Regions from separate parts of the Homo sapiens genome. Here all the other regions are linked to region 1. The links are contacts of gene promoters, found by promoter capture Hi-C in blood cells and fetal thymus (Javierre and others, 2016). All regions are on one chromosome and are shown on one strand. The core of a region is centred on a gene start or on the middle of the fragment in contact, and the rest is flanking DNA. Distances in the headings are between cores, read along the strand shown.

Evidence for each region. Contacts are between HindIII fragments. The CHiCAGO score rates a contact against its expected background, and 5 or more counts as called.
Region 2: a fragment that was not itself captured here is called in contact with the fragment with the promoter of CHPF in region 1 in 3 of 17 cell types (M0 macrophages, M2 macrophages and M1 macrophages); the score reaches 8.3 in M0 macrophages.
Region 3: a contact is called between a fragment that was not itself captured here and the fragment with the promoter of CHPF in region 1, in 2 of 17 cell types (M2 macrophages and M0 macrophages). The highest score is 6.0, in M2 macrophages.
Region 4: a fragment that was not itself captured here is called in contact with the fragment with the promoter of CHPF in region 1 in 2 of 17 cell types (neutrophils and monocytes); the score reaches 5.7 in neutrophils.

What each region holds. Positions count from the first base shown.
Region 1 is chr2:219,540,265-219,545,676 of GRCh38, reverse strand. CHPF (chondroitin polymerizing factor) reads left to right here and starts at 1,868. Exons shown (of 4, transcript NM_024536.6): 1 at 1,868-2,452; 2 at 3,488-4,061; 3 at 4,552-4,731; 4 at 5,035-5,412. The coding sequence starts at 2,139. TMEM198 (transmembrane protein 198) reads right to left here and starts at 1,649. Exons shown (of 5, transcript NM_001005209.3): 1 at 1,300-1,649; 2 at 784-988. The coding sequence starts at 949. RefSeq lists silencers at 1,447-1,586, 1,627-2,336, 2,347-2,436. The HindIII fragment of the contact is 11,388 bases long and covers 1-3,467 here.
Region 2 is chr2:219,672,511-219,677,857 of GRCh38, reverse strand. No RefSeq gene overlaps it. Among named protein-coding and RNA genes, the nearest start is that of SLC4A3, 48 kb to the right of the region's middle. RefSeq lists an enhancer at 4,773-5,273. The HindIII fragment of the contact is 928 bases long and covers 1,141-2,068 here.
Region 3 is chr2:219,695,133-219,700,964 of GRCh38, reverse strand. It overlaps the pseudogene RPL23P4. Among named protein-coding and RNA genes, the nearest start is that of LINC02832, 32 kb to the left of the region's middle. RefSeq lists an enhancer at 1,324-2,523. The HindIII fragment of the contact is 3,260 bases long and covers 1,015-4,274 here.
Region 4 is chr2:219,361,079-219,366,832 of GRCh38, reverse strand. LOC105373883 (a long non-coding RNA gene) reads left to right here. Exons shown (of 2, transcript XR_923917.3): 2 at 4,025-4,331. Among named protein-coding and RNA genes, the nearest start is that of DNPEP, 24 kb to the left of the region's middle. RefSeq lists an enhancer at 4,221-4,270. The HindIII fragment of the contact is 1,677 bases long and covers 2,658-4,334 here.

The sequences.
Region 1 (5,412 bases), core at 619-3,118:
TGAAGTTCTGTAACTCTTGCTGCAAAGCCACTGGTCACTTACTCCCATTATACTGGGCCACTAGCCCATCTGGCACCTTTATGCATATTAGAAAAAGGTGTGCCTTTCTCTAGGCAAAGCAGCTTTGTGCCAAGGCCCAGAGTTTGTCAGAGCATGAGCTGGACTTTAGCCCCCACTTGCCCACTCAGCTGAGCTCCCTTATTTAGTACCCGTCCTGTACAAGTATTCACAGCAGCTCTGATTACCGGAGCCTGCCTTGTAGGCTGGATGGATGTGTGTGACCACCATCCAGCCCACTCTAATATGTATCCCAGGTGTAAATGCTCCAGGGAGTCTCCTCCCTGTCAGACAATATGCCCTGTGGTAAGGGACCATGTGTAATAACCCTGCTAAGTGTTTTCAGTGGCTACCTAGCACAGTTAGCCAAACACATCCTCACAATAGCTACAATTTATTGAATGCTTACTAATTCTTACAACACTACATGAGACAAATATTGTGATCATTGTTCAGATGAGAAAACTGAGGCTCAGACAGATTAATGTGCCCAAGACATCACAATTAGTAACTGCAAAGCTAAGTAAATTCACACTCAGGTGTGCCTAATCCAAAAACCTGTTTTTCCTATAATCTAGAGTCTAGACAATCTATAAATGTGTGGGATGAAAGAAAAGGAAGAATTATTCATGATGGTAGAGGGATTCAGAGAAGACTTGGGGGCCCAGAAAAAGAACTCGGGGAAACACTGGGGAGCCCAGGTGAGGGATGAGATGGGGATCTCACCGAAGAAGCAGTAGACGACTCCAAACAAACAGCACATGATGCAGACGAGGGCCGGCAGTGCCTGGTACCTGCGCTCCAGGGGCTGTTCACAAGGTGCACCCCAGAAGGCATCATCTGGCTCAGGGGGCAGCAGCTGGAACCGCAGTGTTGCCACAGTCCCCGGCATAGTGCTGGGAATAGAAGGGAGTCACCCTCCCAAGTTAACCTGACAGAGGGAAAGTTGGGGTCACGGAGGAGTCCTGGGTCCCCACCAGGATGGGGGTGGGAGAGGGATTGGGAGAACTCAGCAAGGACAGTGGACAAAGGAATAGTATCCACATTTGTGCAGCTCCGGAAGCATCTCTGGAGTGGGGAGCAAAGACAAAGGGAAACAAAAGTGCCTGGCTAGTGGAGGCTGGGATGAAGTTAAAAGAGGGACGGGAGTCGGGGGGATGAAGGGAGCGTGCTGCCAGTGAGAAGGAGGCAGCCAAGAGATTCATCTGTGGGCGGCTCAATATGGGATTGTCCAAGATTTACCTGGGCTGGAGGCGACCTGAGCTTCTGAGTGAAAGAGGCTGTGCAGAGGCCCGAGGGGCCGGGGTTGCGGGGCGCCAGAGGCTCCAACTGACTGGGGTCCAGGGAAAGTCCGTCGTGCGAGGAAGGGGGCTGCTGGGCCGGAGAGAATGGTGTCGGCGCGGTGGCGGCGCCGCTCCACGTCCAACACCGGCTGGCACTCCAGTCCCGCGGCGTCCGGGAACTCGGGCTGGGCCTGAGGAAGGGGAAGGCGCAGGAGCCGGGGCTCGGGCCGCCCCAGAACCGCGGCCCCATGCCCTGAGCCCGCCCGCGGCCTTTGGTGCTGATGGACAGCTCCGGCCTCTGCTCCTGACGTCACTCAGGGCGCACCATCCAGGCAGGGGCGGGCTGCTTCTGACGTCACATGGGACGCACCAACCACGCCGCGGGAGGCAGGGGACTCCGCCCCCGGCGTCTCCCTCTCCCGCACTGAGGAGGGGGCACTTCCGGGGGTCCTTCCCCTTTAACCTCCCCCTTCTCCTCCCTCTCCGGTAGCGAGAGCCCGAGACCCCACCCCGGGGGCGGGGCCCTTGCAGTGACACGTCGGACAGCTGCGGCCGCGGCTGAGGCTCCAGTGCCGAGCGCAAGAACCCTGCGCAGCCCAGAGCAGCTGCTGGAGGGGAATCGAGGCGCGGCTCCGGGGATTCGGCTCGGGCCGCTGGCTCTGCTCTGCGGGGAGGGAGCGGGCCCGCCCGCGGGGCCCGAGCCCTCCGGATCCGCCCCCTCCCCGGTCCCGCCCCCTCGGAGACTCCTCTGGCTGCTCTGGGGGTTCGCCGGGGCCGGGGACCCGCGGTCCGGGCGCCATGCGGGCATCGCTGCTGCTGTCGGTGCTGCGGCCCGCAGGGCCCGTGGCCGTGGGCATCTCCCTGGGCTTCACCCTGAGCCTGCTCAGCGTCACCTGGGTGGAGGAGCCGTGCGGCCCAGGCCCGCCCCAACCTGGAGACTCTGAGCTGCCGCCGCGCGGCAACACCAACGCGGCGCGCCGGCCCAACTCGGTGCAGCCCGGAGCGGAGCGCGAGAAGCCCGGGGCCGGCGAAGGCGCCGGGGAGAATTGGGAGCCGCGCGTCTTGCCCTACCACCCTGCACAGCCCGGCCAGGCCGCCAAAAAGGCCGTCAGGTAGTGATCGGCTGCGCCCGCTCTACCCCCTGGGCAGCGGCCGGGAAGCGCGCGGGGAGGTCGCCCGGGCCCGGGTCAGGCTCCGGAAGGAAGGGGCTGGCGAGCCAGGAAGTCTTTGGGCCCCGATAACTTCCGATGGCCCTGCCTTCCCGAGAGCCGTGGGGCCAGTCCGAGACTTTCTCTGGGCCCTATCCCGGCCTGGGCTGAACTTACTGGACTGTGTCCTAAACCGGCTCGACCCGATGGCGCCCCAGAGATCCTACTAGCTCCCTGGCTGGGCTGCTGGTGTTAGAGAAATGACTTATATATAGGGTGAGTGTATAGAGACAGGGGAAGAGAAAGGAGAGAACTAGGATTTACCTGGATCTCTTGTTCCTGAGTGGGTTACAAGGGCCACCTCAGGGTGAGATGGGGGAGGGAGGAATGTACCTATCTCATTAATGTCTCTGCTGATGAGTTGAAATAACTTCTAAGTAACATTGGGTTCAAATGCTGGTTCTGCAATTTACCTTCTGCCTTACCAAAAGGTAAGTTCCTAGAGCCCCTGAGTGCAGTTTGCCCCTCCCCGCAAAAACACTCAGTACACCCCTATGCCAAACGTTCCTTTATGTCATTTATGTGAGGCATTTGTGGCATAATGGCATATTTATATAGAAATGAGTAGATACATGGTGTGTCCAGCGTTTGGCTGGGTGCTTTAAACAGATATAATCAGTCCCATTTTACAGATGGCTCAGGTTAAATAACATGCTCAAGGACATAACTACTAAGTAGCGAACCCCGGAGTCAGACCCACAATATCTCTCTCCTATCTGGGTGGGTATTGCCATCTCCCAAATGCAAAGCACTACCTGTTTAAGACCATTTCGTTTAAATCCTCATGACCCCTGGGAGAGAGGGTTTATTTTTAACCTATTCATAGGTGAGAGAACAGATACAGAGAAGACGTGACCTGCCAGGGTCTGTGCTGACCACCTCCCCCCCACCCCCCGCCCCGTTGTCCTTTTGATAAGCTTGTGCCATCTCCTCCCCTAGGACCCGCTACATCAGCACGGAGCTGGGCATCAGGCAGAGGCTGCTGGTGGCGGTGCTGACCTCTCAGACCACGCTGCCCACGCTGGGCGTGGCCGTGAACCGCACGCTGGGGCACCGGCTGGAGCGTGTGGTGTTCCTGACGGGCGCACGGGGCCGCCGGGCCCCACCTGGCATGGCAGTGGTGACGCTAGGCGAGGAGCGACCCATTGGACACCTGCACCTGGCGCTGCGCCACCTGCTGGAGCAGCACGGCGACGACTTTGACTGGTTCTTCCTGGTGCCTGACACCACCTACACCGAGGCGCACGGCCTGGCACGCCTAACTGGCCACCTCAGCCTGGCCTCCGCCGCCCACCTGTACCTGGGCCGGCCCCAGGACTTCATCGGCGGAGAGCCCACCCCCGGCCGCTACTGCCACGGAGGCTTTGGGGTGCTGCTGTCGCGCATGCTGCTGCAACAACTGCGCCCCCACCTGGAAGGCTGCCGCAACGACATCGTCAGTGCGCGCCCTGACGAGTGGCTGGGTCGCTGCATTCTCGATGCCACCGGGGTGGGCTGCACTGGTGACCACGAGGTGGGATGATAAGCTATCCCACTGATACCTCCTTGTCATGTTCAAATCCCTCTGAGAGGCAAAGGGATGTTGGAGATACAGGTCTGCTTTTCCATGCCAATTCGGACATTTATTTTCTATCTCTGTGACCCCCAGTAAATTACTAAATATCCTGGGCTTCAGTATCTTCCTTTGTGCCAATGGAAATAATTATTGCTCGGGGTTGTTACAAGGATTAGAAAAAATCAGGGAGCCTTGTACATAATAGGCATTTGATGTTAGTTATTATTTTAGCCCTTGGACAGCTCTGAGACAGGACGCATGCCCATTTCGCAGATGAGCTAGCGGAGGCATGCTGAAGGTCACACAGACTCACAACTGGTCAAGGTAGACTTAAACCCTCAGACTGCAAGTCCACAACAGGTCATAGGCTGAGGAGATGAGACACTTACTATGAGACAACGGAAGACAATGCCAGCTCATCACAGATCCCTTCCCTTCCTCTCCCCAGGGGGTGCACTATAGCCATCTGGAGCTGAGCCCTGGGGAGCCAGTGCAGGAGGGGGACCCTCATTTCCGAAGTGCCCTGACAGCCCACCCTGTGCGTGACCCTGTGCACATGTACCAGCTGCACAAAGCTTTCGCCCGAGCTGAACTGGAACGCACGTACCAGGAGATCCAGGAGTTACAGGTATGGTCTAGGTCTGGGGGTGGCAGAGTGACGGGGACAGGATCTGAGAAGTCACAGAGAGCCCAGAGAAATGACAAGTTAGCACTAGAATCACAGAACAAAACTACTTCCCAGCCCCTGCCTGTTTCTACATTCTCTGATGAGCCTCTTGGCTGTCTATGCTGGGGAAATGATAGGTATGGGCAGAGGTTGGCAGGGGATGAGGGGCCCATCCTGAGTGGCACCTACTGCCTACCCAGTCCCCCAGCTGTGTGCTGCTCCCTGTAATCTGTCCCTTGCTGATGGCCTGTTTCTCTGATCCAGTGGGAGATCCAGAATACCAGCCATCTGGCCGTTGATGGGGACCAGGCAGCTGCTTGGCCCGTGGGTATTCCAGCACCATCCCGCCCGGCCTCCCGCTTTGAGGTGCTGCGCTGGGACTACTTCACGGAGCAGCACGCTTTCTCCTGCGCCGATGGCTCACCCCGCTGCCCACTGCGTGGGGCTGACCGGGCTGATGTGGCCGATGTTCTGGGGACAGCTCTAGAGGAGCTGAACCGCCGCTACCACCCGGCCTTGCGGCTCCAGAAGCAGCAGCTGGTGAATGGCTACCGACGCTTTGATCCGGCCCGGGGTATGGAATACACGCTGGACTTGCAGCTGGAGGCACTGACCCCCCAGGGAGGCCGCCGGCCCCTCACT
Region 2 (5,347 bases), core at 355-2,854, 130 kb before region 1:
AATTACAAAAATTAGCTAGGCATGGTCGCATGTGCCTGTAGTTCCAGCTACTCGGAAGGCTGAGGTGGGAAGGTCACTTAAGCCTGAGAGGCTGAGGTTGCAGCGAGCCGAGATTGCACCATTGCACTCCAGCCTAGGTGACAAAGTGAGACTCTGTCTCAAAAAAATAAAAAATAAAAGACGGCAAGACCAACTTCAATTTTTTCATTGTTTTTAAATTTATTACAAACCATGGACCCCTTTCTGCCTGCATTAACCTCTAATTAAAATTTAGCATTTCTCTCAATTAGAATGTAGGCACTCACATGGAGGTATTAACATACCTGTGACTTTGTCACCAACAGAACCACAGATATTTCATGTCACACTACAGTTGTTGCAGTGTCTAAAATATATAGTTTATACTCATAACTACTTCAATATTAGGGTGATTATAAAACTATTGCTAGGTTTTATTATTTAATGGGCTAATACAAAAGATAAACTGTTACTACATTCACAAATTTGATTTTGTTTGGTTTTTTAGTGTTTGGACAGCCATATTACAATATGATCAGCTTCCTTTATAATCTTATGTATTATAAAAAGAGGTCCCTGGCCAGGCTCGGTGGCTCACGCCTGTAATCCCAGCACTTTGGGAGGCCAAGGCAGGCGGATCACAAGGTCAGGAGTTCAATACCAGCCTGGCCAAGATGGTGAAACCCCGTCTCTACTAAAAATATTAAAAAAATAGCCGGGCATGGGAGCAGGCGCCTGTAATCCCAGCTACTCAGGAAGCTGAGGCAGAGAATTGCTTGAACCCAGGAGGCAGAGGTTGCAGAAAGCCAAGATCACACCACTGCACTCCAGCCTGGGCGACAAAGTGAGACTCTGTCTCAAAAAAAAAAAAGAGGTCCCTAAACTCCAACAGACAGACACACACAGAAAATGAAGAGTACCTGCTACCCACTCTCTTAGATAAGAGTGCTATATAAATGCTGGAAATATTATAATCTTTGTACTATTTTACTTTACATGTTTGTGGCTCTTGAGAGAATGGACTGAGTCATATAGTTCTTCCTTTCCTCCACAAGCCTTTAGAAAGCATAATCACTCAACCACTACTTATTGATTCCCTGGCTGGCAGAAATCCCTCAAGCTTCCGTAAACTCAGTATCACACTCAGTGACCAGGAGATAAACAATATGGCAGGAGGAAGAAAGGTATTGAGATCAAACCTTCCAGATGGTTGGCAAACCCTGTGCATGGGGTGCTGGAACTTGCTTCTTAGAGAATAAATACATCTGTAGAGAAAAAGGTCCATTGGAATTTTCCATCAAGGCTGATAGGGTACGGCAGAGTGCCCAAATGTCATGGGAAGCGAAGCAGACTCCAAGCTGGGAAAACGCTCCTGGACAAGATGGCATCGTTTTTATATGCATTAGAAGCCCTTACGAAATAATATCAGATGTCCCGGGATCCCAGTTCCCTGCAAAGAACCCCACTCTACCCAGAACATCACACAACTCCTGACTCTCTGGCACTAGAAAGCTGAAGGGGGTTCTGGGACCCTCGGTTATAGCTGACATCAAGAGACTCTGACTGTTTCCGTCATCTTTGTTGTATCCCCAAGACTTTGTGACAGAAAACAACCACCATTTTATTTTGTTCCTAATTCCTGTGGGGATTCAGGTACAGTGGGGATGGTTCTTCTCTTCTCCACGATGTCTGGGGCTTCCAAGGTGGCTTCTGCACTCACAGGTCTAGTGCCTGGGCTGGGATGGCCTAAGGACTAGCCAGAACACCTATACATGGCCTCTCCACGTGGATTCGGCTTTTCACAACATGGCAGTTGAGTTAGAGAGAAGGCTTTCTGAGAAGGGGTCTCTAGAAAGCAAACACTATCAGAGCACCAAGGGGAAGCCACATGGCCTTTTCAGTCTTAGCCCTTCCACCATACTCTATTGGCCAAAGCAGAATCAAGAGGAAAGGTCATAGACTCCATCCCAGATAGGAAAAGTGCCAAAGAATCTAGGAGCTATGTTTTACAACCACCACACTGGCCAAGTGAATTCCTTGCTTCCAAGCTTAGAGATAATATCTAGAGTCCCCAGGGGGCTAAACATGGACTGGTCTCTAACTTGGGTGGGAGAAGAGCAGGTGCTGGGGACTCCAGCAAACTCCTCACAGTTGATTCTCAAGAGTGTGTTTGCCCTGCCCCAAGAGAGATGCCCAGAGGAGGCTCAGCCCACAGGCAGCCCTTCACAAATGAAAAGAACCCTCTTGTCACTATTACCCACCACCCCACCTTAACTGCTATTCCTCCTGAACATCTTTTCCCCTCCAAATTACCCTCCAGCAAAAAACCTGCTCCCACAAAGCACGCTGTGCATGCCAGTGTGTCTCATTGTTCCTCTATTAAGACACATCATTCACAAACACTACGCTTCTTAAAAGATACCCTCAGCTGTCACTTACATAACAGAACTTGGCAAAAACAGATGGAGCATGCCAGCGGTGTCTTTGCCTGGGGCAGTATATGCTAATATCTTGGCACAGGCACCTTGAGCTGCTTTTTTTTCCCAGCAAAGTTCCATCAGCTGGAAAGTTCGAAGGGGAGAGCAAGATCATAGAAAAGTCAGTAGAGGAAGCTGTTCCTTTTTTACCTTTGGAAAATAAAACTACCTTTTCATCAATCAAATAGTGGGAAAAATCTGTAGAGCTACTCCCCAAAACTCAGGAGAAAGGAGGAAGCTTGATGCTACCTAAAGAAAGGTATGACACACAAAAAGAAGGGACATTCGACCCAGGATGTAGGAGAAAAGGGCATTTCGGAGAGAAGGAATGACAGGCACAAAGATGGGGAGGCAGGAATGTGCCTGACTTGTTCCCAGAGCATTGAAATAGCTGGTCTACCTAGAGTGGAGGGTTTGGGCTTGGGAGTTGTAGGGGCCATTTATTATTTCGCCTTCCCAGAACAACACCCCCGCTTCATTTGGGAAAGAGCTCTACTTCCATTTGGTTCTCTATAGCCCTGGCTGGGCTAATCCTAGAGACTGATCCCTTTGACATCAGTAATTGGCCCAGGGATAGGCAAACGACCAGGCCAATCTGAGCCCATTCCAGCCCAACTGGAGTGAGTGGGAAGAGCTCTTTTCTCTCTGCTCTCAAGAGGAGGGGCAGGAGAATGCACAGGGCTAAAAGCCCAAGCTCTTCAATCAGAGTTGACTCCAGATCCCAAAGTTCTTTACCAGCTTTGTGAACTTGGGAAGGGTCCTCACTGAGGCTCCATTTCTTCATCTGTAAAATGGGGATAACAAGACCCACCTCATAGGTTCATGTCATGGATTAAATGAGATAAGCAATTCAGGTGCTTAGAATTAAGATGGCAGCCCCAGAGCTGCCCACACCGTGGTACCAACTTTAGGGTACTGGCCAGCCTGAGAGTTAAGTCAGTCCTCAAAGGAAGCAGGGATGAGAGTAAGTTAAGCAACAACCCAGGCTTCCTGCAGCTTGGTGATAGGAGTCAATGAATTTGCCTTTTCCAAATGTAAGCTGGCTTGAGTTTGATTTCTGTTCATGGCACCTAATAGTGCTTGAGTTGTATTTTTTAATGCAAAAATATACTTAGAAATACATCCACAGTGTATTTCTCTAATTATAAAATCCATCCATTGAAATAATCCTAGAGTTTTGTAACCATTCCTTTCTTGGTTTTCCTTTCCCTAAAATCAACTTGCTAAGCTCCCAAGACTACAAGTCAAGCTGGAGGAAGCACCAGGAAGGAGGAGGGACGATGGGACAGGGATATGAGTTGTGGACGTGGAGGAGAGGATTAAACAGTCCACCAGCCTTGTGGACCCCCAATTCTAAGGATCCTCTGAGCCCCTGACCTTCACTCCCCAGAACCAGTGAGAGCCCAGGTCAGAACTCAGGTTCAATATCCCAAATCATAAACAAAATCAGAGAAGCAGAATTCTCAGAAGAAACCAAATGGAAAACCCAAGAAGACAGGAAATGTCCATGTTCAGCACTGAAACTCACCATTGCCATGGGAGAATAAAAGTCATAAACATAACAGAGAAGATAATATTATAATTATTTGCAACTAGTTTTGACTCTACACCTGGAAAACCAAAGAGAATAGAGTTAAAACAAAAACAAAAACAAAACTGTTAAAATCAATAGGATAATTCGATAAGATGGCTAGCTATAAAAATGTATGTATGAGAGTCAATAGCTTGCTACATACACACAACTGATTGGAAAATAAAATGAAAGAAAAAAATCCCATTTAAAAAGCCGCAATCAGCTGGGAGCTGTGGCTCACACCTGTAATCCCAGCACTTTGGGAGGCTGAGGTGGGCGGATCACCTGAGGTCAGGAGTTCAAGACCAGCCTGGCCAACATGACAAAACCCTGTCTCTACTAAAAATACAAAAATTAGCTGGGCGTGGTGGCAGACACCTGTAATCCCAGCTACTCGAAAAGCTGAGGCACGAGAATCGCTTGAACACAGGAGGTGGAGGATGCAGTGAGCAAAGATCGCACCACTGCACTCCAGCCTGGGCAACAAAGCAAGACACTGTCTCAAAAAAAAAAGGTAGCAATTCAAAAAAGTAAAAACAAACAAAAAGGCTACATACAGATACACCTAATAAGAAATGTACGGAATCTACATGAAGAAAAAATGTTTAATTTTTTTTTTTCTCCTAGACAGGGTCTTACTTTATTGCCCAGGCTGGAATGCAGAGGCATGATCTCAGCTCACTGCAGCCTTTACTACCCAGGCTCAAGTGATCCTCCCACCTCAGCCTCCTGCATAGCTAGGACTATACTATATGTGCATGCCACCATGCCCAGGTAATTTTTGTATTTTTTGGTTTTGCCATGTTGCCCAGGCTGGTCTCGAACTCCTGGGCTCAAGCAATTCACCCACCTCTGCCTCCCAAAGTGCTGGGATTACAGGTGTGTGCCACCACACCCAGCAGAAACATTTTTAAATTCTAATGAGGACCTTATATAAATTTTTAAAGACCAGCAAATGATAAGGCAGAATGGGAGAATAGACATACAGTACTGGAGAATAGAGATCAGAGGAATCAGATAAAAGAGAAGCATGGAAGAGAGGCAGAAAGACAAAACCTGTCATTTTTCTTGGGCCAGTGAGAGTGGGGGGGCTTCAGGTGCTTTCCCAGAGGACCCATGGTCTGGGCGCTAGTGGGGAGGAACTGACCTGCATGGCCACCATGAATCCCTTAGGCACCCCTCCTCCCCTGGGGTCATGTTGCACTCCAGGCCGCCAAAATTTAGGGGCAGACTGGAGACTGAGTAAGCCAGCCAAGGTGGCCACTGGGCGGCAGAGACA
Region 3 (5,832 bases), core at 1,395-3,894, 150 kb before region 1:
CCCACTCTGTCACCCAGGCTAGAGTGCAGTGGCACGATCTCAGCTCACTGCAAGCTCTGCCTCCCGGGTTCATGCCATTCTCCCGCCTCAGCCTCCCAAGTAGCTGGGACTACAGGTGCCTGCCACCACGCCCGGCTAATTTTTTTGTATTTTTAGTACAGACGGGGTTTCACCGTGTTAGCCAGGATGGTCTCGATCTCCCACCTCGGCCTCCCGAAGTGCTGGGATTACAGGTGTGAGCCACCACGCCCAGCCCCAATAATTTTTAAAAAGAAGTCAGATTTAAGTACAAAAAAAATTAATGCTATAATGTACATAATTGAAATGAAGGCTAGTTTTTGATGACATAGGCTTACCTGAAGGGGGGTACTGTCCTTACATTTTGGTTTATACATTCCAAAAATGTCTGACCTTCCCAAATATCGCCTATATAGTTTCTAAATACCATAAAGTTTGCTAAAAATCCATAGCATAAGAATTAAGACGACCTGATGTGAGAGCAAAGTACTCAAAGGATCTTAATCTTAAAAAGGGAAAGCTTTAGAATCCAGGGAGTGAAAGGAGCTGAAGGCAAACATAGCCTCAAACCAGGGATCAAGGCTAAGAGAGGTTAAGAGTCTCATTCAAGGTCACGCAGTGGAGATGAAGCTCCAAGAGCCAGGTCTTCATTTAACTAATGCTGGGTTCTTTCAGCTATAGTCTGGCCTAAGAGTGTCCTTACTTGTCCTCTGAAAAAAAAAAATTTTTAATATTTCACTTTTGAGGTTCTCGATCATTTGAGACTAGAACTTCTGTAGGACAGTAAAGCCTTGTTTAATATTTTTTTAACCAAATTGTTTCCCCAGGAGTCTGTTCTGGTCCTTTGCTTGTCGCTCCCCTTTTCCATGTTTGATTCAAGCCTCTGGATTTATTTAGTCATGGCTGGAGTAAAGAGAGAGGGGAGGAGACGGCACAAGAACGTCTTTAATAACCATAAGATGGCTGGCCGCTAAATCCTTTTCAAGAATTGAAGCTTTTGCTGTCTCACTGCTTTTCAGTCAAATTACAGGGAATGATGTCTTGGATGATTAGGTCTGTGATGAAACTGGTTATAGAAGCTATTTCAGAACCCACAGTGGTTCCCACTTAAATCTAAACACGAAGACCTGCCACAGATACTCTATCTAAAACTATTTCAACGTGTTACGCTCTTCTGCACATGTCAATATTCTCTCCTTCGCAAAGCTAATCAATAACTAAAGAGAAAAAAAAGCAGATCTCGGTGAAAAAACATATTTGGCAATCCTTGGCTATATAAAATACCGCTTCAGTGCGGCATCCTTCGGTTGTATTTGCTGGCTTTGTTATCTGTGTAGGCTGTCCTCTGAACTATTTTTGTTCTCTGTGTTTACTTTTGAAATTGAATTTTTTTCATTCTAAAGTGCACCAAGGATGCCACTGTAGACAATCCAAGCTCATGCAGCATAGAGTTAAGATTTGATAACAATCTGGTTTCGTTTGACCATTGGAGGCCATCAAATCAGTTCTTTTAGTCGCAAATGACCATTTGTGGGTCCGAGGGGATCCCACATAGCTCTGAAAAATCAATCACGTTAACTGGAAAATAGGCAAACTCCCAAAGCCCTGTGTACGGTAAAGACCTCTCCCAGTTGTTTTTAACAGGTTTGAACTATTACCAATGAGTCACCACGGACTTTTGTCTTCATTCATTCCTTACTCTATGAAGACTTTTCCAAGGCAAACATTACATGCTATGATGTGGATCACAACAACAAAACAAAATAACCCGGTCGGGTGGTATTTTCCTTTGTTGTAATATCAATGTGTTTTTTAATTTACCACATGAAGAAAGCTACGGCAGGTACAGTATTTAGGAAATGCTAAGAAACTCGCTCCATAACACTTGAAGCAACCGGTTTCTGCCCTTGATGTACTACGGCTCTCCTTCCACACCCATGACCCCTGGGGAGAGAAACAAAATCAAAGGTAACCACATCCTACTTACTTTTGGCAAGTGGGATTACTCTCTATTGGAACCATTAATAACCCCTTTCCGGGGTTTTGTTTCCTGCCCTGAATTCACTGCAGATTGAGTATAATAAAGAGAGTAGAAAAGGGCAAGTAAACTCCTTTAATACCATGTCCGAAAGGCCGCTACACCCTGGAGAGTGAGCCAGTGTCTATGGTAACTAGCCCCCTCTCCAGCTGCGTGTGAAATGCTAGAAACAGAAATCTTTAGAAGTAAACAAAATAAGCTAAGAAATGTAGATGTGCTTTGTAAATGATAAAGCAGATAAATGTTTGTTGTCCCTGTTACTTTGGTAAATGTAAATGCAAACATTCTCAAATGCCCTTAGTGATGAACAAGACATTCACTTACAGGAGACCTAAAATGAGACCCAGGAACTGCTAATGCTGTCCTCTACCTGCTCAGGTTTCAGTTCTTCCTATGAAAGCCTCAGATTGCAGGGAAGTCTTTTTTTTTTTTTTTACTTTGGACATCCCCAGCTGGCGGAATGTGCTCATTTATAGGGCCCTCTGTGACTGAGGGGAGCCAAGGATAAAAGGAAAAATGGTATTCTCAAGTACGCAGATCGAGGAGGAAAATCCACCAACTTCTATGTGACCAGTAAGAGAGTAGTGGGAATATGCCAACAGTGTGGGGGTAAATCGTTTTTGGTGGGTGTTTTGGGAGGCGGGGGCAGAGTTTAATGTTTTTTTTTTTAATTTTTTACAAATACGCTAAAGATTCAGGCAGTGCTGCCAGCATTGGACGTCAGCCTGGGCCACATGGCTGCATACTCCTTTGCAACTGGCCCTGTGATGACAGAACTTTTCATCACACGTTTATTACTTACTACAACCCTGGCATTATCTTCAAAATAAAGAAACAAGCCATCTTTTCTCTGGCATGACTTCTGTTGTCACATGACCACTGCTGGATGCACCTTCCTTCTGAGCTCTGGCTCGCCTTACTGACCATGGCCATCACCACGTTACCCACACCAGCAGAAAGTTTCGCTGTCGCTTGATCTCATTCACAGAGATGACTACAGATTTTTCACTCCTGTGTGGTCAACACACTTGATCACATTTCCTACCAGAAGACCCAGGGAAACCCTGAATTTCACATAGAAGGACCCACCACATCCTCACACTTCAACATCTTCAGAAAGAGCATTGGTAAATATTTAATAATTGCTCTCTGGGGAAAAATGAATGCATATATAGATATACTGCATGTAGATGTTTGATACAAATCTTACCAATATAAAGGATCTATAGTACCCAATTTACAGATAATAACAAATTATACTCTTTATGATAAACTCCATATAGCCAATAGATCCTCACACAAGGCTTTGTTGATTTTTGCAAAATTCTTCTATCTGTACTCAATCTAGGGTTGGAATAGATAAATGAGTGTGGTTACAACATGAATGTTGGTTGATATTTTCCTTTACATTAACAAGAAAAAAGAAAGTGAGTTAATAAAGATGTATGTCAGTATTTTCACTTGCTCTTCAATGACATGAGTGATTGCTTGCTGTATCAGATGATAGTTTCAAATACCGGGAGAATTTCCTAAGCCTTTTTTTACTATTCACAATGTAATAGTTATGGACATGACACACGTTTAAGTTTAATATGCAATATTCACATCTTCTCCATCACTTTCTTAAGTCTAGGCAATCAACGAGACAATAAATCAAGCCCTGATTTGTACCATTTGCAGATTTCCAAGGTGCAAATATTCCCACCAGGGTTGATTCCAAGCTACCATTTTGATGTCATGGACTACAGAATTGGGAAGAAATGTGCAATAGCACACCGTGATATACTGTTTCCACCATACTGAAAAAATGGGTAGAAATAACCTCACAATCATAGAGAACAGTAAAAAGGTAGTAGAATAAATAGGAAGTAATGAGTTTCGAGAATTTATTGCCTTTTTCATGTAATTTACTTAATTGTAAATTTACACAATTTAATTTTTAAGAATGGCTGTGTTTAACAATTGGCTTGAAAATTTCCTGAAAATTTGACAATCAGCTCTCATGAGCTGGTATGAGCCACTCCAGGACACCACAGGAAAATGCCCAAAACACACCTGTGTTGGCTGGGAATTTTTGAGAGGCTGAGCATTTGAGGCATTCACATACCTGGGTTTTAGATTTTAGGGAAGTTGCCTAATTTTGAGCCTAAGTTCTTGAAGTGGTGGTTAGGATGTGGAGAAGCCCATCTGAGCTCCTGGCCAAGCTCCTGGCCAAGCTTTGACAGCTCCTCCTAGATGTCACTGTTAATCTTCATGTATGATCTTTCCAGTCCAACTAATTATACCTATTTTGTTTTGTTCTGAATATCACCCATTTGACAAGTAAGGTTACCAAACCTAGCACAGCCTTCTCCAAAGCACATCCTGAGCCTGAAGTCTGATCAGCTTGGTTCCACCAGGAACCAACCGTCAGCTGATAAATCACAGGAAGATGACTGGCCAGGGGAAGGCTGAAGGATACCTGAATAATTTCACGATAATCATCTGGAAGATACTTGATCTAGGAAGAGGAGGCAGGAAAAGAAAGATTGCTGGACCAGGTTTGAATGCAATAATATGCCTGGTGAGAAGAGGGAGGAGACGGTGAGCAGTCACATGGGTTGGTACCCAGATCCTTAATTTAGTGTTTGGTGAAATCTTGCTACCACTCCTTTGCCCCCATGGCTTAGGGGAAATGCAAACATCAAAATTACCTAAAGTCAGAGGTATCTTATTTGGTGCACTTGAAAGTTGACATGGTTCTCCTGTAAGGTCCAATCACCCTTGGGTCAGAAAAGCGTTGAAGTAGAGAGCTAGTTGCACACAACTTGGGGAAATTCTCCTGATATTTCCTACATTTTCAAAGAATATGAACATCTGAACACCCAACAAGAGGGAAAGAAGCATCATGATGAAAAGTCTGCTAAGAGTAAGTAGAGCCAGAGAGATCAAGGTTAAAATCTCTGCTTCCCCACTTACTAGCTGTGTGACCTTCAGTGAGCTTCCTTAATGGTAACATGGGAATAATCGTTTTACTTACATTTTAGAGTCATCTGCAGATTATATTTAAAGCCTCTAGTAAGTTGTAAATATATAATATATTCGCTTTAAAAAATGGAAAAAGAGGAAGCACCTATAGTTGTTTTTTTAAAAGCAGAAGAATACAAATTTATTTACATTTCTGTAGTATATCGGGAAAAATGGCCACAATGTTTTGCAACTTCTCTCATCAAGTGGCAAAATCCGTTTATCCAATCCTCAAATACGGGCTTGGCATGTAACTGGCTTTGGCCAGTGGAATATTAGCAAATGTGACACAAGCAAAGACTTGATAAGTACTTGCACAAGTTCTTGAGAATTACTTCCCTTCTTGCTGATGGGAACACTTCTGCTGTCATGTGACTGGCCCGTTGGATAATGGGAGGCAGGTGGTCATCATCCCAGCTGTCATCACATCAGCTGCCACACATGTGAGTGAGGCCATCCTAGACTATCCAGTACCAGCTTAGCTGGCCAGAACAGAAGAACCACCTACCAGACTCCAAGAATCATGAACAAATAAAATGTTTCTTGTTATAAGCCACTAAATTTGAGGGTTTTTTTTTTTTTGCAGCAACAGCTAACTGATACAGTTCTGACTGCAGCTATATAAAGATACTTATGCAATGAAACAAGATTGAAGGGATACTGAGCTAAATGCCTCTTGCCCTCAACTGCTCACAATCATTTAAGTGAGAGAGACAAGACATAGAAATAGATAATACAGTTCAGCACAGAAGTTGCCAATAGGTTCAGGG
Region 4 (5,754 bases), core at 2,247-4,746, 180 kb after region 1:
TCCCAAACCCTTTCATAATAAAAATATTCAACATTCAGAAATAGAAAAGAGCTTGCTCAACCTGATAAAGGCATCTATGAAAAACCCACGGCTGGCTAGGCACAGTGGCTCCCGCCTGTAATCCCAGCACTTTGGGAGGCCGAGGCGGGCGGATCACCTGAGGTCAGGAATTGGAGACCAGACTGGCCAACATGGCGAAACCCCATCTCTACTAAAAATACAAAAATTAGCTGGGTATGGTGGCATGTGCCTGTAATTCCAGCTACTAGGGAGGCTGAGGCAGGAGAATCGCTTGAACCCGGAAGGTGGAGTTTGCAGTGGGCCGATATCGCGCCACTGCACTCCAGCTTGGGTGACAGAGCAAGACTCGGTCTCAAATAATAATAATAATAATAATTTCTTCATACCTTGCATACTTTGCATACAAAGTTGTTTCCCTCCATCCTATGATGTCTAATTGTTTTATTTATGTATACTTATTATAAGTTTTAACCCTTAGTGACCCTAATTTGCTGTGAAAACTAGGAAGCAGGCAATTGTGAACTGCCTGTCATATATCGGCATCTTGTAGTAGATTAGTAAATTTATGAATATACTATTTTATAATTTCAGGAACATATGCTTCCTAATATAGTACAGTCTTTCAGTGTGGCAAAGAACATGCTTATTAGTAGACCCAAATATATTTAGCTTCTCTATATCATATAAAAATAAGATGCCAGAAGTATATACGCTTAAATTTATGCTTAGTAGTTAATGTTTCAGTAGTTTATCTTACTTACAAATGGTTCAGACATTTAATGAATATCTACTGCTTAATTTAACCTAACTTTAAGTTTGCAAGTTACCAAATAAGATTTGGAAACTGATTCAGGCAGACATACTGTAACATCAAACAAAGCTAGCCATCATCTCAAGTTATTTTTCTTGTTGACAAATCAGGTAAGTGTAAAAAATGGCCAGGCATGGTGGCTTACGCCTATAATCCCAGCACTTTGGCATGCCGAAGTGGACAGATCCCTTGAGCCCAGGAGTTCGAGACCAGCTTAGGCAACATGGCCAAACCCCATCTATACAAAAATTGTCTGTCCATGGTGGCATTCTCCTGAAGTTTTAGCTACTTGGGAGGCTGAGGTGGTAAGAATTGCTCGAGCCTGGGAGGTTGAGGCTGCAATGAGCCATAATCATGCCATTGTACTCCAGCCTGGGCAACAAAGCTAAACCCTGTTTAAAAAAAAATAACAGAAGCAAAAAACCTAAAAATTTAAATATATGGTTCTTCTCTGTCTTTTTTTAAAAACTGCTATGCTTGATATGCATCAAGCAATTTATTTTTATTGTATATTTTATTCTTAGTTTAGATTTATAGTTTTATAACCTTAAACATCTAGTTGATATAACATTGTTTGACCAGTAAACCCAGGTAAAATAAAATTGTAGTTCTGCATTCTATTTAATGCTGACAACTCCAAAGACATTTCTGCTTTTATTTTATCAACAATTTTTTTTTTTTTTTTTTTTTTTTTTTTTTTTTTTTTTTACAGAGCCTGGCTCTGTCACCCAGGCTGGAGTGCAATGGAATGGAGCCATCTTGGCTTACTGCAACCTCCGCCTCCTGAGTTCAAGTGATTCTCCTGCCTCAGCCTCCTGAGTAGCTGGGATTACAGGTGTGTACCACCACGCCCAGCTAATTTTTGTATTTTTAGTAGAGGCGGAGTTTCACCATGTTGGTCAGGCTGGTCTTGAACTCCTGACCTTGTGATCAACCTGCCTCGGCCTCCCAAAGTGCTAGGATTACAGGCGTGAGCCACTGTACCTGGCTTTTTTTTTTTTTAATCTATATAAACAAGGTCTCACTCTGCTGCCCAGACTGGATTGCAGTGGTGTGAACACAGCTCACTGCAGCCTTGAACTTCTAAGCTCAAGGGATTCACCTGCCTCAGCCTCCCAACTAGCTGGGATTACAGGCGCCTGCCACCACGCCAGTCTAATTTTTTGTATTTTTAGTAGAGGCGGGGTTTCACCATGTTGGCCAGGCTTATCTTGAACTCCTGACCTCAAGTGATCCACCCACCTCGGCCTCCCAAAGTGCGGGGATTACAGGCGTGAGCCCCTAAGCCCGGCCTACTTTTTAAACTTTTTGTAAAGACCAAGTCTCAGTATGTTGTCCAAGCTGGTTTCAAACTCCTGGGCGCAAGTAATGCTCCTGTCTCAGCCTCCCAAAGCACTGGGATTAGGGGTGTGAGCCACTGCGCCCAGCCTGCCAACAATCTTAAAACTAATTTTATTTACCCAAAAGACTTAACAAGGCCCATGTGTTCAGATTCCTGTCTGTGTCCCCATCTTTGGAGGAAGGACACCTTTCACATGGGGAAAGGATCAGGGAGATCCCTTCAGGAGAGAAGGATCAGGGAAGTCAGAGAGATTGTCCTGCACATGCTGTTTCTCAGATCCTTCCAGCTTAAAATATTCAACATGCCAGTGTGCCATGTTTCTGGGTGGCATGTCCTGAACCCTCTTATTGGATAGTATAAATGGCTATTCACTCTGAAAATCTGTTGAGCTGTATCTTTACATTCTGTCTACTTCTGTTCATATGTATTACCTTTCATAATCAAAAGGTAAAAATACTTTTTTTAAAAAAAAGCATAAAAGCTTCTAAACACAAAAGTTGGTGTCAGAAATATTCTAAATGGAAAGAGGAAAAGAGTGGCTCCTAAGATGACTGGATTATTAGAAGTAAAGAAATGCCCTCCCTTCTTGCCCAATAAACTCCAGAAGCTCCCAGAGTGGCCCTAGGCGAGAAGAGATGAGAGGGAGGGTCAGCCGTGCTCTCCAGGGAAATCCCCTTGTTTTCCCCAGGCCAGCCCCAAAGGGGCACTAGTCTACACTGAACTCTCAACTTCCAGGCAATAGAGACCACCCTTTCTCTGCTGCTTTATTTGACAGCTTAGGAAAGACTGAAATGTTCAAACAAAAATGAACAACAACAGAAAGCCTTGACAAAGGAAAGCCAGATGCAGAGGACCATGGATCCACATATCCTAAATGCAAGGGAGAGCCTGCTCTCCAGGCTCCAGAGCCTTCCACTCATGGGCTACCCCAGGAATAATAGGGACTCCTCCCTGAGTCTCCCCACTCCTGACTCCAGGCTTTCCTCCCACAGCAGGTGACATTCCTAAGTTTGTATGCATGTGCCAGCACACATTTATATATACAAGTGCAATATGTACATAGTAATGCACACACATATTCTCAAACCTACACACATACACCTCACACACATACATAAACGTAACATATATACACCTACACACACATAAACAGACACATGCGGACTTACACATGGACATCTATACAGAAACACACACATGTAAGCATACATGCACACACACAACACAGGTGCACATGCACATACAATGTTTGCAAACATATACAGCCACAGGCATAGACACACATATACACCTGGATACATATACAAACCCATCACACATGCATACATATGCTCATTCACATACTACAAATACATACAAAAAGGCATACACATATATGCACACATGCACAACATACAAACACAGAGACATGCATGTAGGCATAATACATGCATGCATACTCGTGCGCAAAAAACACACATGTGCAATACACAGATACATATACATAAATGCATGCATACACATATGCAGACAATACATAGATACATGTCACACAAACATATTGCTATATATCCATATATACATATGCAAAAACATACACATATATACACAAACACACACATCTTTATGTACACACCCACAAACACACACCCCACATACCCACACGCACATACTGCATGTGATAGCCATCCTACAAGATGACCTCCAGTGATCCTTACCTCTTGGAATTCATGCCTTTGTGTAGTCCCTCCCACAGTGTATCAGGGTTGGTCTCTGTGGCCAGTATAATATGGCAGAAATGATGGCATGGGACTTCCAAAGCTAGGTTTTAAAAACACTGTGGCTTTTGCCTGGTTCTCTCTCTCTCTCAGGTCACTCACTCCAGAGGAAGCCAGCTGCTGTGTCATGAGGCACTCAAGCAGCCATATGGAGAGGCTGATGTGGTAGGGAACTGAGACCTCCTGCCAACAGCCAGCATCGTCTTGCCAGGAGGGTGAGTCATCTTGAAAGTGGATCCTCTAGCCCCACGCAAGCCTTCAGAAGACTACAGCCAACCCTGAGTAACATCTTCACTGCAACTTCAAGAGAGACCCTGAACCAAAAATACCCAGCTAAGCCTCTCTCAGATTCCCAGTCCACAGAAACTGTGAAATAGATGTTTATAGTTTAAGCGACTAAGCTTTGGGGTAATTTGTCATGTAGCAATAAGCCATAGATATTCTTTGCTAAAACTGGATTTTTAAAAAAAGTAATAGACAATGAATACAAGTACACTACATGTACACATATACACATTGACACACACATCCCATCTACATACACAAATACATCTCCCACACATACAAACCTACATACGCACACACAAACACACATGCATACAGTACACATTGATTCATACAAACACATGCACACACATATAAACACATGGACACAACACCCATGCACAAACATATAAACACATGTATACACATATAAACACATGTACGCATGCGCAAGTCCCGAGAACCCACTTCTAGAGTCTTTGGGCTCTTCACCATCTAGATGCCCACCTGGGGCTCCCCATAGAGCTCTGACCCATCTCGGAGGAGCTGCCTCTTCTCTCTCTTTTTTTTTTTTTTTTTGAGATGGAGTTTTGCTCTGTCACCCAGGCTGGAATGCAGTGGCACAATCTCTGCTCACTGCAACCTCTGCCTCCCGGGTTCAAGCAATTCTTCTGCCTCAGCCTCCAGAGTAGCTGGGACTACAGGCACATGCCACCATGGCCAGCTAATTTTTGTACTTTTAGTAGAGACGGGGTTTCACCATGTTGGCCAGGCTGGTCTTGAACTCCTGACCTTGTGATCTACCCGCCTCGGCCTCCCAAAGTGCTGGGATTACAGGCGTGAGCCACCGTGCCTGGCCTGAGGAGCTGCCTCTTCTCTAGGAGATTCCCACCAGAGGTGATCCTGTCCTTGAGGGAAGACCTTGTTTCCCGACAAAGGGTGGTGGCCTGAGTCTTGCAGGCCTCAGTGCAATGATAGCACCATCCCCACTGGCTATCCAAGAAGAGGCACAGGCATGGTGGCCCACCCTCTCCCTATCAAGGTGGGCAGCCTTTGTTCCCTGGGGTCAGGTGGGCTGTCTCACACCTTCCCCCTGGTGAGCTGTAAGGCAGGTCTCCTGGATTCTGCTCCTGATTCTCTACCAGACCAGGCCTCTCTGCCCTTCTGGGTTTCAAGGTCTTTCACCTTGAAACCTTGGGGCATAGCCGAAATCTACAAACCCAGAGAGGCTGAAGCTGAAAGGAACTAGAATTCAACTCACAATGCATTTGTGCAACACGAGGCTGCTTTATATCCATCATCTCATTTCATTTTCACAGTCACCCTGATGAGCTGCCCATCTAACAGATAAGAGCACTGAGGCAGAGGTGTTTCATCTGGGGCCTCAGGACCCAAAATCTGTTTCATTTTGGAGCATCCAGGCTGAGCTAGGTCCTGAGCCAGACACTGAGGATGTGATAGCAAATCAAACAGACATGTCTTCTGTCCTCTTGAAATTTACACTCCAGTGGGGAGACGCAAATAAACAAGTAAACAAAGGAAGAAGTCCATCGGCCGCG